Regions from separate parts of the Homo sapiens genome. Here all the other regions are linked to region 6. The links are contacts of gene promoters, found by promoter capture Hi-C in blood cells and fetal thymus (Javierre and others, 2016). All regions are on one chromosome and are shown on one strand. The core of a region is centred on a gene start or on the middle of the fragment in contact, and the rest is flanking DNA. Distances in the headings are between cores, read along the strand shown. Region 1 overlaps CENPQ (centromere protein Q). Region 2 holds the start of ENPP5 (ectonucleotide pyrophosphatase/phosphodiesterase family member 5). Region 3 overlaps MMUT (methylmalonyl-CoA mutase). Region 4 has its middle 130 kb from the start of MMUT. Region 5 overlaps CLIC5 (chloride intracellular channel 5). Region 6 holds the start of CD2AP (CD2 associated protein). Region 7 has its middle 2.0 kb from the start of ENPP4.

Region 1 (2,914 bases), core at 262-2,761, 2.0 Mb after region 6:
CACTGCTTTTTGTAACTGGTGTGATATGTGGTTGCTAAATGTAGTTTGTGATCTTTCTGTTAATTCTTTCCCAATTTTTTTTCCAGTCTTGTGTGGAGGGGAGTTTGAAGCTTTTAACGTTTGAGAGGATAGATTTATCATTGTCTTTCTCTAAATCTGCACATATATTTAAACTGTATCAGTATAATAATTCTGAATGTTTAGAAAATAAATGATGAATAATTTATCTGTATATCTAGCTATGGCTAATATGTGTATATGTTTATATGTGTATATATATATTTTCTAGGCATATATAGCTAATATGTGCATATACATATTTCCTTGTATACTGCACCTAACTTCTATCCACTTCTTATGGTGTAATGCAAGAATAAGTATTTCATTCTTCTGTTCCTTTTATCAGAAATTAGTTTGGTAATAAAAGAGGGAAAATTACTCTAAATTTTATCAACATCCCCATTTCCAATCCCATGTCTGTTTTGTAATTTGTGGGAGGGCAGGGTATTCAGTACATTTCTGTACTCTTGTTAAAATGCACATAGCCCAGATAGGATTGCAGTTTAAATTCTTAATAGTGTCAGACTAACACATGAATTTCCACATAGATTGATGGTATAATCCTAAAAAGTGTCTCCTTCCATTTTTGGCAAAAATTGGGTAATGGTAAATTTATTACTTAAAATAACAAGACCTAGGCTTTACTCCTTGAACTGACATTATCTGTGACTACTTTATATTTCTATTTCCTTGGACTTAAACATGGAGAGGATGTTATCATACGATAGAGTATAAAATAAGAGATACAAAAGCATTTTTAAATGATTTTCTAAAATCCATACAAACGGAAGTTAATTTCTAGGAATGAAATTGAATTAGATATCCTTATTCTGATAAGAGTGAAAATTATTTCTTTTAAAAAATGCTTGTTTAAAAGCATACAATACTATCCCCAAACTTTTATTATGATTTTTCTTTAAAAAAAAAAAAAAAGAGAATGTGGAACATTTACAGGATAGTTTTTTAAACAAAACATTGTGCAAGGCTTTAGCTTTTTTTGTATTATTTTCATCTTTACAGATTTTTTTTTTTTTCGAAGCACTGTGTTTAGATCAAGATGTCTGGTAAAGCAAATGCTTCCAAGAAAAACGCTCAACAGTTAAAAAGAAATCCAAAGAGAAAAAAGGATAATGAGGAAGTTGTGTTGTCAGAGAATAAGGTAATGAAAATATCAAGTTTCTCATTTAGAAATCTTCAACTGTGGCCAAGCACTATGGCTCATGCCTGTAATCCCAGCACTTTGGGAGGCCGAGGTGGGTGGATCACGAGGTCAGGAGATCGAAACCATCCTGGCTAACATGATGAAACCCCGTCTCTACTTAAAAAAAACAAAAAAAAAAATACAAAAAATTAGCCAGGCGTGGTGGTGCACACCTGTAATCTCAGCTACTCGGGAGGAGGTTGAAGCAGCAGAATTGCTTGAACCCGGGAGGCAGAGGTTGCAGTGAACCGAGTTTGTGCCACTGCACTCCAGCCTGGGCAAAAAGAGTGAGACTCCGTCTCAAAAAAAAAAAAAAAAAAAAAAAAGTTTCAGGTTTTACCCTACTCATTAGGCAATGCCTATATTTGTATATAACATTATTTCTTAGGCAAAGTGAGTAATAATTCATTTAAAACATTCTTTGACACTGTATAAAATTCTGTTATTATCATCATTGTCAAGAATTGCTTTAGTATGTCCTCTCTGTGATAAATATACACCATTTTTCTTTAGAAGTAGCAACATACATTTTTTCTATGTACTAGAAATTATATGAATACTCTTTGACATATATAAAAATCTATTGTAAAAGCAGGATCCTTTTATCTGATGTTTAATTCTGTTTATGTTTATGCATGTGTTTTTCCCTCTAGGTTAGAAACACAGTGAAAAAAAATAAAAATCATCTGAAAGATCTGTCTTCTGAAGGTATTTCTTTTCTATTACCTTGTTTAACCTGCTTCTATATCAAGCTATATCTACATTCGTGAAAAAATGTTCAGCATCTTGTTTATGAGTTCTGCAAAAGATAGTAATAAACAACTACATTTGCATTTTTGTAAGAATATGTAGTAGTGGTTAGTTATTTTGGTCAACTGAAATTTTACTTAGCACCTCTGACGAAATACTGTAGAGGCTTCAATGCCACTGAGTTGATAGGAAATAGAGAAACTCAAAGTGGCCCACAGCCTGAATTATTAGTGATCTGTGATATAAATACAAATGTACTAATTTTTCTTCAAGACAAATATGCTTTCTGTTCTGTATAGATTAGTTTGGAACCATTATTATAAGTTTGTTTGGAGTAAACTAGTTTAGAGTAGTTGCCTTTGCTTAAACATCACTGTTTCATGGAAGGATTCTCTACGTCTCCTCAGCCAACACTAGGTTAGGTCCTCTGGTTTTATACTGCCATAGTGTACAATACTTTTTTTTCCTTTTGTATGCTTTGCACACCTATAATTTGTTCAATATCCCTTCTCTCCAACACTCATTTTCATGAGATCCAGTACTATTTCTTCTTTTTTTTAATACCTAATAAGTAGAACAGTACCAACAGCATAGTTGACACTATCTATTTGTGGTTTGATTAGTCTGTTTTGTTCCAGTTGCCATCCAACATTTGGAAAATAGTTTCCTGGTCCTCTCAATGAAATGTTTAAAGAATTTAGGCCATTTCTGAGAATGAAACTTTTCATAATTAAAGTTTGATTCTTCATTTAAAATTATTTCTATTATCACTTGGTAGTATTTCTGTTAACTTATCAATAGAAAGCATATTCATATTCAACACCTGGGATGTTACAGCTGTGTGATAAAAAGTAAATTAAACAGTTTATACAGCTTTATAATATTTTGTTCTGATAATTTCAT
Region 2 (3,086 bases), core at 264-2,763, 1.3 Mb before region 6:
ACTGCAACTTCCGCCTTCCGTGTTCAAGCAATTCTCCTGCCTCAGTCTCCCAAGTAGCTGGGACTACAGGCGCCCGCCACCACACCCAGCTAATTTTTGTATTTTCAGTAGAGACAGGGTTTCGCCATGTTGGCCAGCCTGGTCTCAAAACTGCTGACCTCAGGTGATTCACCCTTCTCGGCTCCCCAAAGTGCTGGGATTACAGGCATGAGCCACCGCAGCCGGCCTGAAGACATTTTTAAACTTCAAAAATATATCCTGTTTCACCTTGCTGTATTATAGGTACAGGTAAATAAAAACTACTTGGCATGCTTGCTTTGCTTTCAGAAATACAAGGTATATGTACATTGTGGGTATTCGCTGAGGGCAATAAATTCTGTTTTGCTGGTTTTAAACTGTGTTTTCACCATACCTAGACATTTCTTAAACTGAAATTGTTTTAGGTATTGGTCTCAAGATGATAGCTCAAATGTCATATTTAAAAACGATTTCTTGGATGGCAATACTCTCTCTGATTCTGGAAGGAACATTAAACACAGTTGCAGCAAGGAATAGCAAATAGGTTACTGCAAATATATTTACTCACCTATCTGGCTATGGATGGTAGTTGCTCTCTCTGTCCTTTCTCCCCCTAATTTTCTCTCCCACCTTTTTAAAACAAGGAAGGCTAGTATCAACCAAATGTAATTTAAGGCTAAAAGCAGAGGAAATAAACTACATGGAACACCTCATTTTCATCTATCTTAGCAAATTAATTCGGCACATGTGTAAGCAGGAGAAAACTGCTTTCTTGGGACCAACAAAAGTAAGCAAAGATTAAGTGTTGTCTAAAGCTTAGGAATGTTTGGCAAGAAGACTCAACATCACATCCATGACACAGAGCAATAAACAGAGGTGGGGGGTGGGGAATGAAAACAATCAGAATTTTTTTTTTTTTCGTGCACAAAATGCTGCACAAAACAGTGGAATCCCTGGATCTGGCTCCACATTTCATTGAGTACTTTCCAGTTCTTTCTCCCCTCCAACCCTTCCTCCACAAACAGACTTGGAGAGCAGGAAGGACGGGGCACCGATTAAACGGAAGAGGGAAAGTGCAGAAGGAGTAGGTTTGTGTAGCTCGGGTAGACGTCAAGGGCGGGGGTGTCCATCTTCTCCACCAGGATTCCATCCTAGCCACCCAGAATGGTCGCGGCGTAGGTTATGTTCCCAATTCCCAGTCATCCCGCCCACCGAGGCCTGGGCTTCTTAGATGTGCAGTGGCAAGGAGGGGACGTTGCTTTAGGGACCCAGAGGAGCAGTGTGGGTTCCCGGGAGGGAAGCCACCCACGCCCCTGGACTCACCCTCGCAGCGATCCGTTCAGTCCGTATTAGTTTGGAGCAACGGGAGGGAGGGTCTGGAGGAGACTCCCTCGGGCGCGCCGCGGGTAACGGCGGGAGGGTGACTGGAGGAACGCCCCCGGAACGCGCAGGAGCTCACCTGCGCTCAACTCTGGAGCGGAGCACCTGACCGCGCCGCTTCCCCGCCCCGCCTCCTGGCTTCTATTGGCTGCTGCAGAGATAGTCACTTCTGCCTGGGTTGCCCCCGAAAGCCAGGCTCCCAGGAGTAGCTGCACGGCCTGTCAATCAGCGGGGGCAGGGGCGGGCGCTGCCTGGGTTTGGAGGGTGGAGGGGGAGGGGACTCCCGGGGGCAGGGACCCATCTGGTAGGGCGAAGGCGTGGGATGGCCAATTGCTTGGTCACACACAAAACCTTCCGGCAACGTGCCTTTTCCAGGGGACCAGCTGTGCTGGAGTCAGTGATGCTGAGAGATTATTGCGTGTTACCCCAATGGTGGGTGTACTCTAACAGTCACTGTTTTTTGTTTAAAAGCGACTTGTATTCTCTGATTTCTTATCCCAGGCTTTTTTCCTTCCCCCGCCCCCCGCCCCCTGCCTTGTCACGAATTGGCGATGGGGCACACCATGGGCTTTGCTCTGAGGAACACCTGCACACCCGAGGATGCCAATGGGACGATGAAGTTTCATTCTTTTTATTAGTGGGTGTTATCTGCTTTACCTCAGAAAGAATTTATTAACCTAGTCAACTCTGCAGCCCCAACGTTTGCAGTCCAGGTTTTTGCAATTGAGGTCCCTGAGGTATATTTGTGGTGTACCTAGCATGGCACCTGAAATTGTGCGAATTAAACCAAGACAGGTTCAGAATTAGGTTAATTTGCACAGGAGAGAGGCTGAACAGCCACCCTCTCTGGTGGTGGCATCCGAGCTCCAGACTCTGTTTCTACCTTTGTTTGCAAAGTAAACATTAAAACTACAAACATCAGGCCTGATTACTCTTTCAGAAAGCCTTCAGTGCTTCTTGTGTGTTAGTGCCCCTATTTTGTCTTTTTCCGTACTGTAGTGGATTATTTTCTCAGTTTTTTTGGGATAATCAATGGCATTTTTAGGCCTGAGGGAGTGTAGGCAGGTACTTAGTTTGCCAGTATGATCCCAACTGTCTTTACCATAAATTATAGCAGTGATATCAAACTACCCTGAAAGAATTTGTCCATCTACACAATCCCAGCTAGAATTCTGACCTAATTAGAATTCTAGTTCTATCTGCAGTAGGCAATAATATCAGGTTGATTGTTACAATGTAAGTTTAACATCTAATTAGCTGGTAAAACTGGGAGCATATCTGCAATGGTGGTTTTGGCTCCTGCCCGGAGCTCGGATCCCTTGTCTGGTGTGCTGGAGCTTTAAAGTGAATAGAGATATCTGTTGATATTTAATTAAGCCATGCAAACATTTTGGTCATAGCTTTTTCTCTGTCTGCTTCTAATAGAGGGACAATCTCAACCCCAAACATTGTTACCTCCTAACTGGGTCATCCCATCCCGAAGGGCATCTGGGCACTCTTCCATGGCCTTTTATTCGTGGTAACTTGAGTTTATGGTTTTCAACACGTGGGATGGGGATTAAGAGGGAGGCTGGTTTCTATGTTTAGTGAGACCCAAACACAATGAAGTTGAACAAGTTGTTCCAATTCCCCAAAGCCCTGTCCTTTGAAATTGCCCAAACTTGGAACAGAGTGGTCCAATCTTGTAA
Region 3 (2,834 bases), core at 1-2,500, 2.0 Mb after region 6:
TATTTTCTATGTCAATTTCCATATTAAGCTTCAGAATAGCAAATAAATTCAGACAAATTAGTTTAGAAGCCAAAATTAGAAGAGTCAGAGTTCAGTGTTTAGTGCCTCTTATAATCCTCTGAAATATCAGATATTGTTGTGCTTACTTTTATATTGCCTAAATACTTTTCTATAAGTATATCAACAATGCATTCTTTTTCTACTTAAGATTATATAGTCCTTCATTTCATAATTCACTCTTTGCTGATTATTTTGTCTACCTCACAGTATCTACCACAATGATGTGTACAAAACAGGCACTGAATAAATGTTAATAAAATAGATGAACAATGAACTGAGATATCAGAAATTTGAGTTCTAGTTTATTGCATGCCTAATTGTGATTTGGGCAAGTCATTGGATCTCTCTGAACTTCAGTTTCTTTAGCTGAAAAAATAAGCAGGTTAAAATAAAAATGATTATTAAAGTTCCTTCCAACCCTAAAAATCTCTTATTTCTCCATGTATTTATTTATTTATTTTTATTTTATTTATTTATTTATTTTGAGACGGAGTCTCGCTCTGTTGCCCAGGCTGGAGTGCAGTGGCGCAATCTCGGCTCACTGTAAGCTCTGCCTCCCGGGTTCACTCCAATCTCTTGCCTCAGCCTCCTGAGTAGCTGGGACTATAGGTGCCTGCCAACACACCTGGCTAATTTTTTTGTATTTTTAGTAGAGACGGGGTTTCACCATGTTAGCCAGGATGATCTTGATCTCCTGACCTTGTGATCTGCCCGCCTTGGCCTCCCAAAGTGCTGGGATTTACAGGCGTGAGCCACTGTGCCAGGTCTATTTCTCCATTTATAAGAACCTGAAGTTTTATTTCATACAGAGTATAATAGTTATTATTCAACATTTAAATGTATAAAAGCAATGTAACTTTGCACATATAAATTATTTTTAAATGTACCAAAATAATTTCATATGTAAAGAGAACATGTATAAAAACAAGGCCATAACTATACAATTTTTAAGAGAACAAATTAAATTACCCAAGTAAAAACAGTCTTTAAACAGTCTGCTTGCATGCTTGCTTAAATACATAACTTTAACACATAAAATATGTATGTATATATAATTAATTTTAAATAGGCAGTTTTATGTTAAGAATTATAACTCTTACAATTATATGAGAGTACTAACTTATGACTTTTGCTTCCTTCTCATCATCAAATTCTGTTTTCTTTCTTTCTTTGTTTTTTTTTTTTTTTTTTTTAGACGTAGTTGTGCTCTTGTTGCCCAGGCTGGAGTGCAGTGGCGTCATCTTGGCTCACTGCAACCTCCGATTCCCAGGTTCAAGTGATTCTCCTACGTCAGCTTCCCAAGTAGCTGGGATTATAGGCATGCACCACCACGCCCAACTAATTTTGTATTTTTAGTAGAGGTAGGTTTTTGCCAGGTTGGCCAGGCTGGGTGCCTCGGCCTCCCAAAATGTTGGAATTACTGGTGTGAGCCAACTCGCCCAGCCTTGTTTACTTTTACAAGTGTTTCAGCACTACAGGGAAGCTAGGATGTAAGTGATTTTATATTGTTAACCACCAGAGGGAGACAATTTTTATTTATTTATTTATTATATTATGTATAATTACAAACCTAAGTATACATTATGCTTCAGAATATTTATCATTTCAAATATTAACAGATAGCTTCTTAATTCTATTTCCTGCTTGTGCCACATTGCTCAGAAAAAATATATATATATAACTTTATTAAAATTCTACATTTTAAATTATATACATACCTGCTCAGTAAGTGACCATCCAGATGTCTGACAGTGTGCTCTTAGAAGAAGAGATTTTGAGTTTTTAGGCTGAAACATTTTCTCTATTAAGTGAGCCCAGAGTCTTCTACCAGCTCTCATCTTTGCTATTTCCATATAGAAATTCATTCCAATTCCCCAGAAGAAAGACAACCTAAAATAGTAACGTTAGGTCCAGAATTTAATTAAAGTTAACAATATAGAGCAGAAAATAAAACTAATTGTATCACACACTAGAAAATCAAGGTCTATATTTTAATTTCGAAGAACTTAATTTGAATTAAGATCAGTGCACGTACATTTATGTAACTTTAAACCTAACATAAAATTACAGTTTTATGCATATGGAAGAAATTTTGCTTCAGGTAAGAATTATTCACTTTGTAATTGGTTTTCTTAATGAAAGAATCTCTTCCTATGCCCTTCATTAAATAAAGATTCAATTTATTTAAAAAATGTATATTTTAGGAATACTCAATATGTAAGACAGGAGTCACCTATGAATGAAATAAAACAGCAAATTTGCTTTGTTTAGCCAGAAAAGTGTTTTGTAAAAGAATGATTGTGCATTGGTCTAGGCATATACTTCTCCAATTTGTGCCCTTCACCTCTCCCTTTTATCTTATATTCTGTGCTGATTTAAACATTTAGGTTACTTGCCTGTCTCTAAAGGCACAAAGCTTGCAAATCTACTTCTGACACATTTTTGGAAGTTCTTTTTTTGAGACAGAGTCTTGTTCTATTGCACAGGCTGGAGTGCAATGAAGCAATGTCGGGTCACTGCAACCTCCACTTCCCAGGTTCAAGCGATTCTTGTGCCTCACCCTCCCAAGTAGCTGGAATTACAGACAAGCACCACCATGCCCAGCTAATTTTTGTATTTTTAATAGAGACTGGGTTTCGCCATGTTGGCCAGACTGGTCTTGAATTCCTGGCCTCATGTGATCTGTCCGCCTCGGTCACCCGAAGCACTGGGATTACAGGCATGAGCCACCACACCCAGCCTTGAAAGAAGTTCTTAACACAGCAGTTTTCAAA
Region 4 (3,021 bases), core at 187-2,686, 1.9 Mb after region 6:
GAAAATTTGTTATGCAGCAATATATAACAAGATAACCATGGGCCAAATTTTAATAAAAAGGTCTAATAAATGTGCTGGGTGATGTTCATATTATATACTAATATTAGAAAAACAAGAGTTTTACAGACAGAGCTAAGACTGGTCTCCAGGGTACTGAGCCACATGGGAAAACATGGGCAAGAACCAGTATTTGCAGCCTTAAATTCAAGCTGGGAAAGTGAATTTGTTAAATGGATTCTGATTATAAGAAAATAGATCTAAGTTTTATGTTCATAGGAGATGAGGAATCAGGCATGGAGAGGTGTAGACTAATCCTTTTGGAATAGCATGATCTTGCCCTGCGTAGAAATCCAAGCTTATCTCATGCCAGGTCTCTCTCAGTTCATCCTGTTATAGTCACATTGGGTTTCTATTGTTTTTTAAGAAAGGCCAAGCCCATTCCTGTCTCAGGACATTTGAAAGACTCTACAACCAGCTCTTAGCATAACAATCCCTTTTCCCAACCACATTCTGTGAGTACATCCACATGCTAGTATTCCTCTTCCAAAATTTATCACAATTGTTTGTATATTTATTTACTTGCTTCTTAACTGTTATTAAAAATTAATGAGGGCAGATATATTTTCCCTTCTGTTCACTTCTATATTCACTAAGCCTTACATATTTCCTGACATGTTGAAACTACTAGGAAAGTAACTGTGGAATCTTATAACAGGTGATTCCTTACAACCAAAGGTATAATAATTGCTAATCTCAAAAATGGGGGGTATTCGCCTTTGGCCTGCACTATAATACTTTATGGGAGCAAATGACGTTAGCAGGTAATGTGTTTCCCAAATTCTCCTGTGCTGAGGATTTCAAGGGAGTACTGTTTTCTCTAAGGTAAGGTAGTGGTTCTCAAATGGTAGTGTGTATCAGAATCACCTGAGGGGCTTGTTAAAACACAGATGACTAAACACCATCCCAGAGTTTATGATTCACTTGGTCTGGCATGGAGTTCCATGAATTTCTATTGCTAACAATTTTCCCAGTGATGCTAATGCTGCTGGTGCAGTGATCACACTTGGAGAACCACTGATCCAAGGAACATTCACCATACCCAGTAATATTTACATATGTTCTTTATTTCACCATACCCAGTAATATTTACATATGTTCTTTATTACTCCCATACTTGTTAAAATGGAGATAAGCAAATAGTAACACCATTTACACAGCCACAACTTATGCTTTCTTCCTGCTAAACCTGGAAAAATTAATGGATCTCTGAAAAAGGAAGATGTGGAAAAAATGTAACTTTAAGCCAGGAAAAAAATGTTCACAGGCTATCTCATCTCTCAGTAAAATAAATAAAACTCATATTCCAAGAAAGTAGCTTACATAGAATTGATATCATGCCTCTTGGAAATGCCAACAAAAGACATCTGTGAGTCATTACGTGACCAAATTTTGTGTGGGATTCGGAATTTGGGTAGACATATGTTACAGAAAATTCTACACATTTCTTTAAAACCTATATTTCTATGTCTTCTGTTCTAATCGTTATGGAGATTTTATTATTATTAAAATTTAGACATTATTCATCTTTAAGTCCTTGGTCCTTAACACATTTTTTTGTTTATTTAGTGGATTACTTGTTTTATATTTTAATTGATAAAATTGTACATTTTATAGGGTATAAAATTAAAACAAAATTATAAATTTACAGTTATACTAAGACAGGAACATTGGGCACAGTAGAAGTGTGAGTAGGACCTATATTATATCAGTAATAAGCATAGTCTTAGACATGAACCACTAAGGATAATAGGGATAGTAATAATGATAATCTTATACATGAATCATTCTGTAAATGCCCATTGTTGTTATTTCTGGGGTCTCTAAGGAGAGCCAATAAATAGCATACATTTTCCCTTTCCAAATTCTGAAAAAAAGAAAAAAGGGAATCTGGTGGAGGCCAAAATCACTGTAATAAATAATAAAAACAAAATTAGAGTGGAGAGCTTAATGTGAGCAAAAAAAAAAAAAAAAAAAAAAGCCCTTCACACAAAAAGAACCTGCTCAGGTTAAGATTTACTGGACAGATGATTAATGGATACTCACTCCTGGTTTAACCTTATCACAAACTTACCAAAGATAAGCCACCCTTTTACACTGGAGTAGAGTAAGTAAAAAGATGGGAAGAAAAACAATGTTGCACCAGTTCAGTCCCTTCAGCAGGAAACATGAGAAGAGAGACGTGTCCCCACCACTGATACGGCTACTAGTACTGTACTTTTGAAAGTAATTCATCTCTTTATTTGAAGAGACATTTCTGTGTTTAAAGGTTAAAAAAATCTAGCCTCAATAGTTGATACCAAGATATTTGTTTCCCAAAAACTTCTTAGCATGCATTCAAGGTTCTTCATGATCTCATCCCCATTTACGTCCCTAATACCATGGCTCATCCTTGCTGTGTTCCTTCCTCAGGACCCAATGTCTCCTCCCATTCCAGGTCTCCTCACCAAGGAACTATAGAAAAGCTTGATTGACCTTCCCCCGGCTGAAGTATCTGCATGAGCCTCACACTGCACAGTCCTACATTTCTTTAAAATAATACATGTCCTCATGCCAGCTCCGATCTTGTGAGACTCAACCTCTATAGCAAGGTCCAGAAACCAGAAGTAGAACAGGTCTATCAACTGTGGCTCTGCCACATTGTCCCACCACTCGAAGAGCTTACAATTTATTTAAAATATAAATCATGAAAAGTTGGCTAACAGTACTAGACTGTAACACCAATGCTTCTCTACTATTAATATTATACTGTGTAATGAAACATACTAATCTTATCAACATAAGGTCTGTTCCATGACATTAGCCCATTCTCCTATTTTAGAGTTTCCCACTTCTTATATCTTGTATATTGCAAATTATTTTATGGGTTCTGCTTCATAATATTGTTATAATTGTTTTCTGTAATTTCAACATAGTCTAGAACAAGATGAAAATTCATATTTTCATCAAGCTCACATGGAATAT
Region 5 (3,050 bases), core at 382-2,881, 1.5 Mb before region 6:
CTTCTTTCTTTTGTTTGTTTGTTTTTTCCTGTTTTTTTTCTTTTTCTTTTTTTTTTTTTCCCGATTTTCATTTGCACAAATTTATGGGGTACATGAGCAATTTTGTTACATGCATAGATTGTGCAGTGATCAAGTCAGGACTTTTAGGGTATCCATCATACTTTGAGTTCATTGATTTTCCCACTAAAGCACGAAGTCCAGCTATCAATCTTTCTAAACATAACCCAAGTCAATCTCCTATTGTGTGTAGACACTTCCAGTTACTCCCCACTACTTACAAGGGAGCAGATACCACTTACCTCCCATTCAAGGCCCCCTCCTGCCACTGTTGTTGGCTTTTTTGCTGTCCTATTTCCAATTGCTCCTTTCATATACCACTTGCTTCAGACAACCCCGTGTACTCATAAGCCCTGAGCATCCCCATCTCCACACCTTTGCTGGACCTGACATGGTTGCTCACTTTTGGCCACCTCTGAATCCTGATCATTCTTCAAGACTCAACTCAGGTCCCACCCTACCCAAAGCTGGGCCTGAAGACACCATTTGGGCCACACTGGTCCCATCATATGCATGACTCATTGCATTCCTGTCACTCATGTGCCACTGATGCTTGTTTGCATTGCACTCCTCAGTGGCACTCTCACAAGCTACTGGAGCCTGTCTTCTTCTCTGATCTCCCCCAGCCCCCTTCAGCTTTCACAGAGCCTGGCACAGAGTAGGTGCTCTGTAAGCATTTTCATATATTGATTGATTGATTATATTTTATCCCCAACTCCCTACATTCTTTATCTTACTATCTCCTTCATGCATTGCCATTTAAAATTATGTGTCACTCCTATATAATAAAAAATATACAAAGGAAGAAAAGAAAAATTACAAAAGAAAGGTCAAAAGCATTTCTTTCCTCCCTTTTCTGGTTTATTTGAGGTCAATCTGGAGTGATTCATGTGAACCAGCATATTGCCTTGGCTACCTCCATCCTGTGAAATGCTTGTTTGAAGTAGCGACTGGACCATATTTTGTCCTTTTGATGCTCCACTGAGTAGTTCAGCCCTATTTACCCATGGTTTGCACCAGTGGTTCTCAGTCTTTGATGGGCTTCAGAATCACCAGTGGGTAGCTTCTTAAGCATACAGATGCCTGGGCCTCACCCCACCCTCCTAAATCTGAAACTCTATAGACAGGACCTGGGCAGGTACAAGTGAAGAAGGCAAGTGCAGTGACTCTTTCATGCCCCAAAGGCTGAGAACCACCAGCCTACCCATGGTTTACCTCCAGTGCTGCTGGCATGGGAAGAGTCTTTGAATCCCCCTTAAAGACTCTTCCCATGCCAGCAGAGCTAAAAGAACTTCTAGAAGTTAACAACTCCATTTCTTTTTACAGGGAAGAATTCGTTTCAGTTCAGACAGTAGGCTATTTATCTTATTTGTCCTTAAAGAATTTCACATCTCAGAACTTAGATACTTCTTTCTTGAAAGAAAAGACACGTTTCCAAAGCAGGTTGTCATTTAGCGAACTGGAAGAGAAATGTCCCTGACTGTGGGAGCTGACCCCTCAGAACACAAGCAGTGTTAGATTTAAGACACCCTGGGTAGAGAGAGTCCTTTACAGAACTACATCTTAGGAAACTCATGCTTAACCACTTTGCATCTTTACTATCTCTAGTTCCTCCAGTCTTGACAACAGATACAACTCAGGATGTGTTCTGGGTAATAGTTTTTTAATAGATACCAGAGAGTGAGAGCCTACGACATTTTCCCCATAATCCTGGTAGATAATACGTGTGCATGTGTGAGTATATTTGATGAGAGCACCTATGGCTATGCATAGCTGGAAGATTGTTGAGGAAGGGGTAGTAAAATCTGCAAAGAGAACCAGGGATCCTCTTGAAAATAAAGAGGATCCTTTACCCTGGCCTGGCTACCAGGAGCCTTGGGGAAGCAGTTATGTAGGAGCTTTCTTGGATGAGGGAGCAACTGACAGGAGGAATCAACTTCCCCTGAGTTTGAAGAACCCAGTGGGTCAGGGATCTGCAGTTACCCTGTAGTCAGTCCAACCACATTACTCCAGACATGGGCTCTAGTGGGCTCCAGCTTATGGAGCAGCAGTCCAGTCAGAGGCAGTCAGATCCAGTGGTGGTTGCACTGTACTTCAGTTGCCATTGGTCTGCAGCAATGAGACTCACTGCTTGTGTTCTCAGGGGTCAGCTCCAACAATCGGGAACATTTCTCTTCCAGTTCCCTGAATGACGACCTGCTTTGGAAACTTACATTTTCTTTCAAGAAGTATCTTGGTTCTGAGATGTGAGATTCAGCTGGTAGGACTGAGCCTCTGACTTCTTGTACACATCAAGGGAGGGAAGCCCAAGGGCTTTACTTTTACTTATTGGGCTACATGGAGCCTACAGAGAAAGACTTACTAATAGGCCAGATCCATACTCAGCTTGAAATGCTGACACCAACTCCATGAAAGATGTGCTGCTGCTATTAGCACTGCACTGGTTAAAACAAAAAAAAAATCTGTGGTCCAGAGAGGTCAAGCAGCCCATCCTGGCCAACACACTGGTGAACCCGAGCCTGACACCAAAGTTTCACTCTTCCACCACATCTCTTGCCACCACTAACATGGGGCCAGCAGCTGACAACTCAAAGGGAACCAAGAATGAGAAGTTTTTGACCTAACTGACTGTCTAAATTGACAGACGCTTTGTCTTGCATGGAGGGGGCCAATAAATGCCCAAAGAGACAACACAAGTCATCAGGGATGCAGGAGCTCTCAACACTGGCAGTGGACGTCAGCTTCTGCAGACCCAGTCCTCATTCCCACCACCCTGCCATGGCACTTCAAATATGCATCATACAACTCTTGACGCTAGCTCTCCAGGGATGTGTTACCAGGAGAAGAAGCACTCACTGCCATAGCAGGGCAGGCAAATTTGTGTATTGCGTTATTGACTACAGATCAAAACCTGAAGATAGTGGGAAAGAAAAACACAGTAGCTTAATATGATGAAGGGAACTTTAAAAACCTAGTGAGCTCATGCTTAGGCA
Region 6 (3,060 bases), core at 508-3,007:
TAGAAACTTAAGGGCTCTGGGCCTTGAATTTACTACCTATGTATGTGCTTCCAATAGCTTATATTTTTGTCTCCTTTCATGAATCCTTCTTAGCCCATCACCAGCCTCATTCTTCCAAATCGTAAATGGCCTTCCTTATGGGCTGCTTGAGCCACACACATTTCTTAAAGGCTCAGAAATACTCTGTTTGCATATCCACTTCCATTCCTCAGTTCTAGGACTCCTCCAGACTGAATTATTGCCTTCCCCAAGCTTTCGTTCAACTCATACCTTCTCTTTACAGCTTGCTTTGCCCACAGTAATTTATTTTCCTTTAAATTCTCAAGCATTTGACCCTCACTACCTCATACTGTTAATTAACTTTGTGTTCGTATCTCACCCCCCTAGAAGAATGCAAAATCTCTGAGGATTAGCGCTGTACTTTAGCTTTTTATTTTTTTGCTTGGTAGGGGACAACGAACATAATGCTGAACACATATTTGTTACCTAAAAAAGGCACATGTTCCATGATGTCAATGTAATCTTGTTTAGGTGAGTATATTCAACTTTTTTCTTTTATCCTTTTTGGCTGCTGTTTGTGAGTTTGATCATTCTTGTTATAAAATTACCACATGTAACCTTTTGAGAAGCATTAGAAGAATTAAAAGATGGCAAAAGCAGGCCTATAGGAAATAGTGGTAATGGATACGTCCAAGGTTACTACTATGGGCCACTGTGCTCTGCATTGCAAGATTTGTTTGAACATACTCAAGAAATTGAAGTTCAGACAGGTTAATTTATCCAAGGTCCCACAAAAAGTAAATGGCTGTGCTGAGTTTCAAGGACCCATGTCTGCCTGGATCCAAAGGGCAAGTCAGTTTCAGTGCTGGATGACTGAGAATTACAAAATTTCTTGAAAAAGCACTAGGCACAATAGTTGGCGTTCAACAAACGCTCACACACACATCTGCCCTGGAATTGGGTCTACTTAAACAGAAGGGGGAAAAAAAGCTTGCTGAAATAATTATACTTCTTCGTAACTACCAAGCTCATGTTTGACTGACTATAGTAATCCTATGCCCTCCTTCACATTGACGCTAGAAAAAATGCCTGGCAGTATTTCAAATCATGATGCCTATTTTTCTCTCGATCAAGTAACAACTCAAATTATACTTTAAAAAGAAAAAAAGCAAATTATAAAGTTGCATTCAGCTGACAAGAGACTAAAGGAATCTGTGAAACAGAATTTATTTGATGCCTAGGTTTCTCCCTCACCCGACGAAGACCAAATGCTGCTGATCCGTAAGTAACTTCGCAAGGTAAACTGAGGGGCCTGGCAGCATCTGGGCCTCCCTTAAAGGTCGAAATCAAGTGCGCTCGCCCTCCTTCTGTCCGCCTTTTCCCTTTAAGGTCCTCGAGGCTGCTTCGCTGCAGAAAGTAACTCCGCGTCGCCGCCGCGGAAAGTGGGGCAACTTTGCCTATCAGCAGAAACCTTTTGATCCATCTGAGGCGACAAACCAGACCAAACGCCCGCCCAAGCTGTTCCGAGCCTCCGGGGGGAGAGCGAGCCCAAGCTCCTCTGCACCGCTTCCTCATCCGCTCGCTGCACCTGGACGCGGTCGGCGCGCGACCCCCGGCCGTGACGTCACCGCACCTGGCAGCAGCCGTGGGGACCGGGAGAGAGCCCGAACGCGACGGGGCGGGGTGGGGCGGGGAGAACGAGGGCGTTCTCGCGAGATTTGCCTCCTCCCGGTCCCAGCTCCCCGCACCTTCTCGGCCTCTGTCTGGGTCCCCACCTTAGTCTACGGTGTCGCCTTTTCTAACTGCGAGTGCTAAGGAAGAGGCGAGGGGCGGGCTCCGAGGCTAGGCGGGCGCTCGGGGTTGGAGCCGAGGGTCTGGGCAAACCGGTGGGTCCCTCCCCACTGCGGGAGCGGCCAGGGTGGGAAAACCGCGGTCGGGCGGGCGGGGTAGGGCCCTCCCGCCGCCGTGGCTCCTGGGGAGGCCAGGGGTGAGGAGCTGTCGCCGCCTTTGCCTCTGCCTCGAGGGCCGCGCTGAAGAGACTGGTAGGAGAGCGCCGCGGGCGGATGGAGGCGACTCTTCGCCCCGCCTGAGCTCAGGAGGGGCTAGCGCGGAGCGCGGGTCCCGCCTCCAGCCGCGGGAGCGGCCGCGCGAGCCACCACTGGAGGAGGAGGAGGAGGAGCGGACGTCGGCTTCTCCCCGCGGGAGCCCCCAGCATGGGTAAGAGACTCGGGCGCTTCCCGCCGCCCGTCCGGACCTTCCAGACCCGGGGAGGCTGTGCCCTTTCTCGGCCTTCTGGGGAGGCGACTGCGGTCAGCCCCTGAGCGGCAGCACCCCACCCTCTCCATTCTCCCCACCGCCCCTTCTTGCCCTGCCTTCCACCTTGCTCTTCTCACGGAGAAACTGGTGGGAGAGCTCGCGGGTGCTTTCCCTCGCTCTCCCTTCTCCGCCTCTTTTCCTGTTCACCAGAAAGGTGCGGGATGGGGGGCGGGGGCGCCTGGCCACCTCTGCTAACCCCTTGCCCAGCTAAAATCAGACCTGACCTTCCTTCCCTTCCTCATCCCCTTGCTTCCCTCCCCCTCCTCGTGGGATGGGGGAGGGCGATCGAAAAACTTGATAAAGTAGCACTTTCAACTTCTTTATTTTCTGCGAGGCTTTGAATACGTTTAAGGAGAGAGATAAATTTGTTCAAAAACTTTTTTTTTTTCCTGCTGAAACTCGCAAGGGGTGCCTCAAGGACAGGAAAGCTTGAGTATTTGTTTTACTCGGGTTCTACCTAGGCAAGTGTGTTGGCACCTAAGCATTCAGTGTGCTCCCGAGGACTGGGTTTGGACTTCAGTGTTGGATCCTTTGAGGAGCAGTTTCCTGTTTGGAGTTAGACTTCCTTGCCGGAGGAGAGAAAAATACAAGGCCTTATATGTTATTTACTATGTGCTTTATAGTTTTGTTTGAAGTTAGAGAAGGCAGAATGTGTGGCAGTCCGGGTTGAAAAGGAGTTTTGTTAAGTGGTGTAACAATTTCTTTTGATAACAAAGTTCGGTGTGGGCTAGGCATTAAACTAAC
Region 7 (3,226 bases), core at 90-2,589, 1.4 Mb before region 6:
AAAGCCTCAAAAGAATTTATACTGATTCTTTCACAGCTTTATTAAATATTTGAAAAAATTCCTTTAGAGTGAAGGTCTAACACAATAGTTCATGGTGGTTAATACAGAATCATTTTTTAAAGGAGCACTTAAAAATATTTTACAATCTTAACTTGATTGAGATTATTCCAATATAATCTTACTGAAAATGGAGTAGGTGAAAAGTTTTCACCAAAGGAACTTTCAAAATCACTAAAATGCAATGATTCATAAGGTCCTTTTCCCCTGTTATATTTAAGATAAAATCTGTATTACTTAAACATCTAATTTATATTAAAAAGTGAACCTTAAATACTCTCCTTGACATTCAATTATTTAGTTTCAGTTGTGTTGTTGTTTAATTAGAACTGAGCAGTGGACAGGAATTGTTTTTCTTTGGGAAGCGTGTGGCTTTTGCTCTGAAACCTTCTTCCTGTAACTTCTAACTTCTGACCTTCTCCTGGCCAGCAATGAGTTATACATCACAATTAGGAGTATAAAAGAGAAATAATTGTATAGAGAGCTATGTCTTAAATTTTGAAAACAGGATAAGATTTTTAAAATATTTTGTGTTAATGAATAAATGTTCAGTCTTGAGCGTAGTTCATGGGAGAAAAAGAAACTGCCTTTGACATGCTGCTTCCAAATCTGACATTGCCCCATAGAGGCAAATGCTCTAGTTGTACTTAGTTTTTGTGTATTGATAAATAATATTTCTATACATTTATAGGGCAGATGTGATATTTTGTTACATGCATTGAACGTGTAACAATCCAGTCAGGGTATTTAGGGTATCCATTACCTCGAGTATTTATCATTTCTATGTGATGGGAACATTTCAAGTCCTGTCTTCTAGCTATTTTGAAATATAAAATACATTTAACTATAGTCACCCTACTCTCCTATCAAACATTAGAATATATTTCTTCTATCTAACTGTATGTTTGCTCAGTCATTTCTCTGTGGGGTATATTCATTTGTAAATAATAAGTTTAGACTATTGCCTCTAATTCATTTCAATCTCTAACATAAAATGGGTTTAAAGGCTCTCTATATTTCCAAAATTTATATAAAATTCCCTTTGCAAAAGCTGAGCTGAAAGAACATTATAAATGAATATTATTTTGCCTACCTAAATAAAACAACACTTATGCCTAAAAATCACATTGTAAATAAGAAATTTATGTTACTATTATGTTTTCTTTTATTATCATTAAAGTTCTACAATGAAACTATAGTGAACTTTGTGGCCGGCTTCCCAGCACCCATTCCAACTCATTTCCATTGAGAAAAAAAGTAAAGTTTGGGTGAGACCTCAGTTTAAGATGTGGACTGCATTGGTCTACAGGTAACCATATCCTTTGCTGGCTTAGATTTGGATATGTGACACAATTCTGTCCAAAGTGATTAAAGGAGACAGTTGCTGAAGACTTCTAAGAGACAGAAGAAATCTAGACGTCATTTCTATCACCCAGTGGAAGTGAAAAATGAATTACATGGTTCCTGTTGCTGCTGGTAGTTATATTTACCACTAAAGGAACCAGAAGTCTACTCTGTTAAAAGCCAAGTGTAAAGCTGCAAAGAACTGAGTACATTATGAAATCGTTGAGTTGCTAACTCAACCAGTCCTGAAGTCTGCCTTACCTCTGGACTTCTTGTTCCACAAGACGATAAATATCCTTACTATAACAGGATTTTGGTTGTGGTTGAAATGGTAAATATATAGAGGATAACAAAAGTTTAGGGCCAAAGGTCCTTATGTGTCATTTTGTCCCTCTGTTCCTGACCACTTTATCTTACAGAGCAAGAGCCCAGGTGGCATGAGACTCCCTAATTTAACCCAGCCACACAGGCAGTAGCAGTGGATAAAGAGAGTCCTCTCCTGATGCCCATCCAGCTGCTATCTTCACCACACATCTGACCTAGATGGCATTCAGTTTTGTCCACCCTTTAAGCATACATATGCACCTACTGAATGAACAAACAGGATATGCACAATACCCCCAAATGCCACAAAATTTAAGTTCTGCTAATCTTAAATGTTATGTCATTGGACATTACCTAAATTCCCCCAAAACTTGGCCTTACCCTGACTATTGTTCAAATTGGGGTACTTTTTTGGTCATAATGATAATAATCCCCAAAACAACATGTGTCAGATACTGTGCTGAATACTCTACTCGCTTTCCTCATTCATTTGATAGTAAGAGGTTGGTATTGTAACAAGACGCGTTTTGCAGATGAGGAAATGAAAGCTCAAATAGGTTGAGACACTGGCCCATGATTGCTCTGCTGGTGAGTGACAGAGTGAGTATTCAAACCAGGTTCTAGGGTCTGCAGGTTCTAGGGATTCAGCTACAGACCCACTACCATCCCCTCCAGCTCTGAAAGCCCATGGATCTAAGATGCCCATATTCACCAATGCACAGGCCAACCTGAGACTTAAAACTGGAATTAATTTATCAAGGCACAAACTAATAATCAACGGAATACATCTATTGCCAAATCATCTCCATGGCTGCTTCCAGATTGTTGGTAATAGCTATACTGTAAGGTTCAGACCAAGGGGACCAACGTCAGAATTTGTTATCTAAGGTCCAGTACTGCAGTTTACTAATCCAGGTACTGGATTTACAGCTATTAAATACTTAACACTTGAGGATATCACATGTGATTAATATTCTTAATTTATTTGTACTTTTTATTTGAGCTGGAGATACAGTAGTGAACAAGAAAGAAAATACCTTCTGGAGCCTGCATTTTAACAAGCGGGACAATTAAATTCAATAGTGATTTAGCAAGTACTTCTATACCAAGTTCTGTTTGGCACTACAGATAAAAAGAAAAAAGATGCTATCCTCTCACTGCCAAGTGTGCCTGGACAACCCAACTGTTAGCGAATAATTCTACTTCTGTTTGGTAACTGCTCTTTATGTTGGAAAGTTTAGTTACATTATTCTATTAAATAACCTTCCAATTAAAAGCAGGAGCACAATCCCACATACGCGTCTGTCAAAGTAAGCACCCATTTCTCAGCTGTAACTCATTACTGGTTCCCTGCCGCAGGCACTGTGCTGCTTTTAACCTTACTTGTAAACTATTACCTAACTTCCCCGGTAAAGGTGCTCGCTTATCCAGTAAGACGGACAGACGTCTATGGTAGATCCACGTTTCATTTATCCCAACTCACTGGAACTGGCTGAAGCTT

The links. Contacts are between HindIII fragments. The CHiCAGO score rates a contact against its expected background, and 5 or more counts as called.
Region 1: a contact is called between a fragment that was not itself captured here and the fragment with the promoter of CD2AP in region 6, in 3 of 17 cell types (non-activated CD4 T cells, naive CD4 T cells and total CD4 T cells). The highest score is 9.3, in non-activated CD4 T cells.
Region 2: a contact is called between the fragment with the promoter of ENPP5 here and the fragment with the promoter of CD2AP in region 6, in 1 of 17 cell types (fetal thymus). The highest score is 7.4, in fetal thymus.
Region 3: a fragment that was not itself captured here is called in contact with the fragment with the promoter of CD2AP in region 6 in 5 of 17 cell types (total CD4 T cells, total CD8 T cells, activated CD4 T cells and 2 more); the score reaches 11.3 in total CD4 T cells.
Region 4: a contact is called between a fragment that was not itself captured here and the fragment with the promoter of CD2AP in region 6, in 1 of 17 cell types (endothelial precursors). The highest score is 5.7, in endothelial precursors.
Region 5: a contact is called between a fragment that was not itself captured here and the fragment with the promoter of CD2AP in region 6, in 1 of 17 cell types (non-activated CD4 T cells). The highest score is 6.2, in non-activated CD4 T cells.
Region 7: a fragment that was not itself captured here is called in contact with the fragment with the promoter of CD2AP in region 6 in 4 of 17 cell types (fetal thymus, non-activated CD4 T cells, total B cells and 1 more); the score reaches 16.2 in fetal thymus.

The regions. Positions count from the first base shown.
Region 1 is chr6:49,469,060-49,471,973 of GRCh38, forward strand. CENPQ (centromere protein Q) reads left to right here. Exons shown (of 9, transcript NM_018132.4): 2 at 1,100-1,219; 3 at 1,915-1,969. The coding sequence starts at 1,118. Among named protein-coding and RNA genes, the nearest start is that of CENPQ, 7.1 kb to the left of the region's middle. The HindIII fragment of the contact is 2,807 bases long and covers 109-2,914 here.
Region 2 is chr6:46,169,467-46,172,552 of GRCh38, forward strand. It overlaps ENPP5 (ectonucleotide pyrophosphatase/phosphodiesterase family member 5), which reads right to left and starts at 1,514. Exons shown (of 5, transcript NM_001290072.2): 1 at 1,342-1,514; 2 at 587-648. RefSeq lists a silencer at 1,686-1,745. The HindIII fragment of the contact is 3,442 bases long and covers 832-3,086 here.
Region 3 is chr6:49,451,807-49,454,640 of GRCh38, forward strand. It overlaps MMUT (methylmalonyl-CoA mutase), which reads right to left. Exons shown (of 13, transcript NM_000255.4): 5 at 1,779-1,950. Among named protein-coding and RNA genes, the nearest start is that of MMUT, 10 kb to the right of the region's middle. The HindIII fragment of the contact is 2,448 bases long and covers 27-2,474 here.
Region 4 is chr6:49,332,538-49,335,558 of GRCh38, forward strand. No RefSeq gene overlaps it. Among named protein-coding and RNA genes, the nearest start is that of MMUT, 130 kb to the right of the region's middle. The HindIII fragment of the contact is 2,167 bases long and covers 354-2,520 here.
Region 5 is chr6:46,007,870-46,010,919 of GRCh38, forward strand. All of the region lies in intron 1 of CLIC5 (chloride intracellular channel 5), which reads right to left. Among named protein-coding and RNA genes, the nearest start is that of CLIC5, 6.5 kb to the right of the region's middle. The HindIII fragment of the contact is 3,501 bases long and covers 1-3,050 here.
Region 6 is chr6:47,476,032-47,479,091 of GRCh38, forward strand. It overlaps CD2AP (CD2 associated protein), which reads left to right and starts at 1,758. Exons shown (of 18, transcript NM_012120.3): 1 at 1,758-2,217. The coding sequence starts at 2,214. CD2AP-DT (CD2AP divergent transcript) reads right to left here and starts at 2,041. Exons shown (of 1, transcript NR_187257.1): 1 at 1,212-2,041. RefSeq lists a silencer at 1,520-2,029 and an enhancer at 2,316-3,042. The HindIII fragment of the contact is 1,754 bases long and covers 989-2,742 here.
Region 7 is chr6:46,126,382-46,129,607 of GRCh38, forward strand. It overlaps a transcript of CLIC5 not described here. Among named protein-coding and RNA genes, the nearest start is that of ENPP4, 2.0 kb to the right of the region's middle. The HindIII fragment of the contact is 3,764 bases long and covers 1-3,221 here.